Regions from separate parts of the Homo sapiens genome. Here region 1 is linked to region 2. The links are contacts of gene promoters, found by promoter capture Hi-C in blood cells and fetal thymus (Javierre and others, 2016). All regions are on one chromosome and are shown on one strand. The core of a region is centred on a gene start or on the middle of the fragment in contact, and the rest is flanking DNA. Distances in the headings are between cores, read along the strand shown. Region 1 holds the start of IL6 (interleukin 6). Region 2 holds the start of MALSU1 (mitochondrial assembly of ribosomal large subunit 1).

The links. Contacts are between HindIII fragments. The CHiCAGO score rates a contact against its expected background, and 5 or more counts as called.
Region 1: the fragment with the promoter of IL6 here is called in contact with the fragment with the promoter of MALSU1 in region 2 in 3 of 17 cell types (neutrophils, M1 macrophages and M2 macrophages); the score reaches 5.5 in neutrophils.

Annotation. Positions count from the first base shown.
Region 1 is chr7:22,724,922-22,728,773 of GRCh38, reverse strand. It overlaps IL6 (interleukin 6), which reads right to left and starts at 1,574. Exons shown (of 5, transcript NM_000600.5): 1 at 1,493-1,574; 2 at 1,140-1,330; 3 at 1-81. The coding sequence starts at 1,511. It overlaps IL6-AS1 (IL6 antisense RNA 1), which reads left to right and starts at 1,154. Exons shown (of 2, transcript NR_131935.1): 1 at 1,154-1,206; 2 at 2,069-3,379. RefSeq lists an enhancer at 925-2,124 and a silencer at 2,110-2,159. The HindIII fragment of the contact is 10,105 bases long and covers 1-3,852 here.
Region 2 is chr7:23,296,992-23,300,698 of GRCh38, reverse strand. MALSU1 (mitochondrial assembly of ribosomal large subunit 1) reads right to left here and starts at 1,360. Exons shown (of 4, transcript NM_138446.2): 1 at 1,091-1,360. The coding sequence starts at 1,346. RefSeq lists an enhancer at 1,054-1,543. The HindIII fragment of the contact is 9,022 bases long and covers 1-3,189 here.

The sequences.
Region 1 (3,852 bases), core at 325-2,824, 570 kb after region 2:
TTCAGCCATCTTTGGAAGGTTCAGGTTGTTTTCTGCCAGTGCCTCTTTGCTGCTTTCACACATGTTACTCTTGTTACATGTCTGGGAAAGAATACCAGAATTGTTATCACCTAAGTGTCCCTAAAACAAACACCACTAGAGGGCCTTTTCATTGTTCAACCACAGCCAGGAAAGTCTCTAAGAAAAATGAAGCTACAACTCATTGGCATCCTGGCAAGCAAATTCCAGTGGAGTGGGGGCACACTTGGGTTCAGTTCCAAGCTCACCTGTGACTTTAGGTGTGTTACTTAATCCTGAGTCTCAGTTTCCTTATCTCCAAAAACCTTCCTTGCAAATTTGTTTTGAAGATTAGACACAATATTTATTTAAAGTGCCTGGCACACAGTAGATACTTAATAACAGCAATTTTGACAATAATTAGGAGAATATAATTCAAGCCATAGAATGTTCCAGCAGGAAGGATCTATGAGATCACCTAGTCCACGCCCAATTTTACTGATGGAGTCCAGAGGTGGTAGGGAATTTACCCAAGATCACAAGGCTGGTTTGGCAGAACCAGAATTCGAGTGTGGGCTCCCAATCTCCCCTCCTGTGTTCTTTTCTTTCTACCAAACAGGACCAAAATACCTTGCATTGAAAGTGGGGAGATGCTTTAACCTATTTATGATTTGCCACTTTGGTGGGCTCTGAGGTATGAATCTTAGCTGGAATGGCTTTGAGGAATCCTAGCCATTGAGTTTACATAACCAAAAAGTACTGCAACTGCTCTGAGAAGCTGAACATGCCTTTCAGGTGGCACTTTTCTAGTCCTTCCAAAGCCCGGGGGACAAAAAGGAGCTTCACAGACCTAATTTTTTGGAAAGGGAAAAGGAAGCCCTGAGAAGCAATAACCCTCAGCTCATGCCAAAGGTGGGCATGGATTTCAGACCCATTCTGCATTTTCCAGAAAGGAAAGGAACTTCCTGACACCAGCAAAGGATAAATACAGAAGTCAGTCTAGTCGGCCCCGTTGGCCTCAAATCTACAGTGCTCTAGAACCCAGCAAAGACCTCCTAATGCAGGCAGCCCCCGGCCACACGCAGGGGCAAGGGGAACGCATGCGCACCGGGCCCTTCAACCCCATCGCCAAGCCTACCCACCTCCTTTCTCAGGGCTGAGATGCCGTCGAGGATGTACCGAATTTGTTTGTCAATTCGTTCTGAAGAGGTGAGTGGCTGTCTGTGTGGGGCGGCTACATCTTTGGAATCTTCTCCTGGGGGTACTGGGGCAGGGAAGGCAGCAGGCAACACCAGGAGCAGCCCCAGGGAGAAGGCAACTGGACCGAAGGCGCCTGTGCCGGAGGGGAGCGAGCGCAGGGGTGAGCTGACAGCACAGCTGGGAGCCTGCCTCTGCTGCTGGCCGCCCGCCAGCCCTCCCTGGGCCACACACCCCTCCCTCACACAGGGCTCGACCGCCGCTGGCAGTTCCAGGGCTAAGGATTTCCTGCACTTACTTGTGGAGAAGGAGTTCATAGCTGGGCTCCTGGAGGGGAGATAGAGCTTCTCTTTCGTTCCCGGTGGGCTCGAGGGCAGAATGAGCCTCAGACATCTCCAGTCCTATATTTATTGGGGGTTGAGACTCTAATATTGAGACTCATGGGAAAATCCCACATTTGATAAATCTTTGTTGGAGGGTGAGGGTGGGGCCAGAGCGGGTGGGGCTGATTGGAAACCTTATTAAGATTGTGCAATGTGACGTCCTTTAGCATGGCAAGACACAACTAGGGGGAAAAGTGCAGCTTAGGTCGTCATTGAGGCTAGCGCTAAGAAGCAGAACCACTCTTCCTTTACTTTCTTTTTTTCTTTTATTAGTGACTCAGCACTTTGGCATGTCTTGACAAAGAGTAAAGCTGAAGTCATGCACGAAGTTTTACAAAGAGAAAAAAAATAAGCTAAAGCTATGTTTTTTGAAAAAAAAAAAATTTTTTTTCAGTGACCAGATTAACAGGCTAGAATTTAGCGTTCCAGTTAATTTGTATTTGTAAAAACCAAAGATGTTCTGAACTGAGTTTCCTCTGACTCCATCGCAGCCCCCCAAGCCTGGGATTATGAAGAAGGTAATACTACCAGTCATCTGAGTTCTTCTGTGTTCTGGCTCTCCCTGTGAGCGGCTGTTGTAGAACTGCCTGGCCATCCTCAAATTTCGTGCAGTTACTTCAAGGCGTCTCCAGGTGGAGTGTGTGACTCCTTTTTGCCACCGCGTGGCTTCTGCCACTTTCTTCACCTGCTTCAGCCCACTTAGAGGAGGTTGGCTGCTGCCCTGCCCTCTCCCAAGTGACCCCTTGGGAATCCTCCCAGTGAGGACTTTGCTCTCTGTGCCAGAGGTTTGCCTTGTGCTGCCAGTGCTCTCCCCATTGCCACTGAGTCTCTTCACCACTGTTTCACTGGGGCACCTGCATGGGCCCCAGGTCTCCTGGAGCCCTGAAATTACTGAAGCCCACTTGGTTCAGGGCAGAAAGGGGGAGAATACTACTCACCTCTTTGTTGGGGATGTCAAAGGAGGACCTTGTGGCATCTTGCAGAGTTTGTGTTTATCGCTCCCTCTCCCTGTAAGTCTTGATTTGAAATCAAAAGAAGCTAGAAGGAAACTACGGACGCAGGCACGGCTCTAGGCTCTGAATCTGCTTCCGCGTCGGCACCCAAGAATTTCTTATTGGGTCAAGCTGGTTCAGAAGCCCTCTTCCCTCAGGATGGTGTCTCTTGCAGGAGGATCCTTGGTCTCATGCAAATGGGCTCTAGACTAGGTTGTCCCTCCAGTCTCCAGAGACCCAGACAGCTCTGAGATGGCTTCAGGCTGAAACCAGACCCTTGCACAACACCAAAACACTTATTTACCAAACATGGTGTTACCTTCACAATCGGTTTCTTTGCTTTGCTAAGAAGAGATCTCTTCAAGATCGATAAAACAGTGACCTCTGTTGGGCATTTACTCAAGTTTTGTTTCGTGCATAACATTTCAGGACCCGCCTGTTGGGGAAAGTGAGGTCATCCATTCTTCACCGATTGTCTAAACAGAGACGGTGGTCCTCTGCCGCGGTGGGATTCTTTGGTGTGAAAATGAAAATGGGGGAGGATGGCTGGATGGTTTCATTTTTAGTGCTCTCCTGTCTTAAGCAACGTAGACACTCCTGAACCAAGTTCTCTTTCCTGCATGAAACGAAGCCACTGCTCCCAGCTCCGCAGCCGTGCACTGTGATCCGTCTATGTAATGTGAGCTTGCTTTTACTCAACTATCTATTTTTTAGAAAATACAATTCAATAAATTTCAAGTACTTGAACTGAGTGACACAATACAACACACAGATTTATCTTTTCAATAAAAAGTGTTTTTTAAATAGGAAGTTCGTGTTCATGATAAAATGTTCAAATAGGACATCAGGGCATGCAGGGAAAAGTGTCTCCTTCCTCTCCTGGCCCCTTTTCCCAGAGGTAGCACCTAATTGCCTGTATTTTCAACCAAATCCTCTGTTATCCTAGCCTGGGAAAGGTTTTCTCGTCTTCCCAGCTGTTTGATCCTGGCTGTTACATCAAGGACCTGTGCCCTTGTTTATTCACCTATAAAACGGGGGTAATAATAGTTCTTCCTTTCTAGGGCTGTTGTGAAGATGGAACGTGATGCAGTGTAAAAAATTCCTGGCGCATAGTAATCCCACAATACATGCTAGCTCTTTGAACATTCCTTGGCTCAGAGTCTCTGCCTTGGAGAGCTCTTCCAGCTCGGCTATATCGGTTCACCTGGTGTCTTGCCTATGAAGGAATTATGAATGAACCAGGCCTCTGTGCCAGCAATGAGCTGGTCTCCCAATCATTTTCC
Region 2 (3,707 bases), core at 111-2,610:
CCTGGAAGGTGAACCTGGGCAGTAGTATCATAGCACCGCTCAACTTTTATGGTCAGGGTGCTCAGATTACGCAGAGCCACTATACATCCTTCGCTATTAACCATATGCAAGTAGAACCAGACACCAGTGACAAATGACTTTCTACTAATACTTAAAAGGAGCAATACACCACAATCACAGAAATGCTGTGCAAAGAAAAACAGCACCACAAAATGGGTAGGAGGTGATATCCTGGAGCATATTAAATTGAATCTCAGTCATAACGGGTCACAGAATTGTGAGCTGGAAGGGCTCTTAGGCAGTATCTGGTCCACAACCTTCAGTTGAGAGATGAAGAAACTGAGGCCTAGGAGAATTACTGTGGCCTAAGATCAGTCACTGAAAGAGCTACATTTTTGAGTAATTATTATTTTGAACCTTCCAGTTTTCATATAAAACCACCGGGTTATTAACAACTGTTACCTATGAAAATCTAATTTTTTTTCCCGTAAAGATTTAGATATTCTGATCTTCAGCTTGGAGTATTACAGGCTGTAAATTTAAAAGCTCGCCCAAGTTCTAAAGCCGACTCCAAAGGACCTAGTAGCTAAGCCCACTAAGGCCTCTCCCTCTCATACTCTACATTCTTAGATGTGATCTGTTTACCATTCTTAAGTTTCTAAAAACGTCAGCAATAACTAGAGGATATTAACTTGGACCCATCTCCTACTGGCGCTTCCTACGCACCCCTTCGCACCCAGACCCTGGCTCCTCAGAATCCTCAAGCCCCAACAGTCCCCACAAACCCATTTCCCAGGATCCTAGGAAGAGGGTAAAAGGAAGTGAGGACGGTGAGACTGTGATGCCAAGGGTGGGAGATGGCCGTCCGGGAGGCTGGGATTCTGCAGTTCATCTCTTGCCCTCAATTTCTTCACTGTGAAACGGGAAGGTTGGCGCCAACAACCTTTGAAGTCCCTTCCAGCTCTGGATGTGCAGGAGTTTTGTGACTCCAAGAGAAATGCACATAGAGGGGAACCCAGAGCCACCTTGGCTGGGACCTGACTCCAGACTGCCCGGAGAGGGTCGCCTTCGTTCTTCTCCACGCCCGTACCTGCCGCGTCCGATTCTGGGCGTCCCTCGTTGACCGTCCCCTCCGCCCGCTCCTCCAGCCCAGGCTCGCTGTGCAGGCCGCGGACAAAGTTTGGGGTCTGGCAAGCCCGGCAGAACGCTGCTCCTACGGGAAGCCGCTGCACGGCCAGCAGCCGAAGCCCGGGCTCGGCTCCAACCGCGGACCCCGCCACCGAGGAAACCGCCCTGCGCCACATTAGTGGGGCGAGCAGCCGCGCCACACGGCCGCCCGGCCCCATAGCAGCAGCCTTGCGTCGGCGTCGCGGGTGGGTGGTACTTCATGGAGCCCGGCCGGGAAATTCTACGTCGATGCGTGGGCGGAGTCAAGGCCTGAAGGACGGACCATGGGCGGAGTCTGGAGCCCGTGAAGACTGCAGTGACCCGGAAGAGCTACTTGGGGATTAGGGCGTGCGGGAATAAAGAACTAGTGTTGCTTGCCCACCTTGCTTTGCTTTGTGTCGCAGTAGCGCATTACGTTGTCACTTTTTTTTTGGACTCTGTCCACTAATGTGAGGCTCATGAAGGCAATAATTTTTGTTTCATTTTTAACTCTTCTCTCCACAGCACCTAAAACAGTTCCTGGTACTGAATGTCCAGAAGTTGCTGTTAATCTGATTAGGCTGGGATTAGGACATATAATCTACCCTCTCTCATTACCAGAAAATATTCAAGATTCCCTTGCAAATTTGAAATTGCGCGAGGAAAATCTGTTATCCTGGGCTAGAGTGGGGTGGGAGGCAGAGGTGTAAAGGACCATTTGGAAACCGTTCTTAGGTCAGCCCATCATCTACACTCCCTGTATGGAGGAGTTTACGCCCAGGGGCGGTACTGTGGGGACCAGCTCTGTAAGAATAAGGAATTCTGAGGTGCCAGCTGCGGTATTAAGTCACAGGACTTGAGAACTGCGATAGATTCCTGGCACGGGTGGGGGGGTGGGGGGTTTTGGGGGCGTGGGACGCCGCAGGGAAGCAACTTGCCCAGGTCATACACTTACTGACTGCGTCAGAATCAGAAGCCAGTTTCTGGCTTCTGAACTCCAGGCCTGCTAACTGCTGAAAGGAAGGCTTCATAGAGAGCAAATATTTCAAATGCCTGAAACAGTGCCAGACACATAGCAGGCACTCCAAAAATGTTTGCTACATTATTTTAAATAATTCCAAGCACTAATTTTGGGAAGTTTTTTAAAAATAGAGAAATTAAGCATTTGTGTATATCACACCAGATATGTACAACCACTTCAAGTTATTTTTGAAAAGAAGAAAAACATTACAGATTAAGTTTCCTCTGTCCAATTTTAGCCCCATCCTCAATTCCATTTTTCCACAGGCATGAACTTGGCTTTTCTCCCAGCTTCTGGCATCCATTCCGTGTTCCCACCCTTCTCTGAACATCCCAGACCTGCTTTACCACCTGTATTTGCCAGCTCATTTAATGGGTCATTATCCCTTCAAAACTCCCAAACCCTAGACTTCATTCAGTCCAGGATCTTCATACAACAAACGAATCTGTTGTCAAAATCCTGCTTATGTGACCTCCAAAATGTTTCTGTGAGTTCAGCTTCTTGTCTTCATTTCCACTGTTTCTTCCTTAGTCCACACCCTCATTAGTTCTTGCCTAATTACAGAGACTGCCTCCTACCTGGCTTTCCTGTCTCCAGTCTGTTTCTACTCTTTTCATCCTCCATGCTGCCCTTCTATCAACTACAATCATTTTCGCTTTATCTGCTTTTTGCTGTTTTTCAAACTCACCATACCCTTTTTTATTTTTATTTTTTAAAGAGATGGGGTCTTACTCTTGTCACCCAGACTGGAGTACAGTCACACAATCATAGCTAACTACATCCTCAAACTCCTGGGCTCAAGCGGTGCTCCTGCCTTAGCCTCCCAATTAGCTAGGACTACAGGCATGTGGAACCATGGCCAGCTAATTTTTGTTTTTAATTTTTTTAAAGACAGGATCTCACTATGTTGCCCAGGCTGGTTTCAAACTCCTGGCCTTAAGCAATCTACCCCACTGTAGCTGTGAGTATAGGCATAAGCCACCATGCCTGGCAACCTCACCATATCCTTTCAATGCCAAGCTTTGCATATACTTTTTTTTTGAGATGGAGTCTCGCTCTGTCACCCAGACTGGAGTGCAGTGGCACCATCTCGGTTCACCACAACCTTTGCCTCCAGGGTTCAAGCAATTCTCCTGCCTCGGCCTCCCAAATAGCTGGGATTACAGGCACGTGCCACCACCCCCAGCTAATTTTTGTATTTTTAGTAGAGACGGGGTTTCACCATGTTGGCCAGGCTGGTCTCAAACTCCTGACCTCAAGTGATCCACCCGCCTCAGCCTCCCAAAGTGTTGGGATTACGGGTGTGAGCCACCGTGCTTGGCCACTACTCTTTTTAGAGCACCCTTTTCCCATTTTTTCATATGACAAACTCAGACTCACTCTGTAAGACATACCTTAAGCATTAAGATATCTCCCCCTACTCTCTCAGATGGCCCCTCAGAAACCCCTCATCCCTTTGTTCATAAATGTCTTTAACATTTATGTTTGACTGCATGATACCCCACTAGAAAAGACTTAGATTTAATTCCACCTCTTCTGT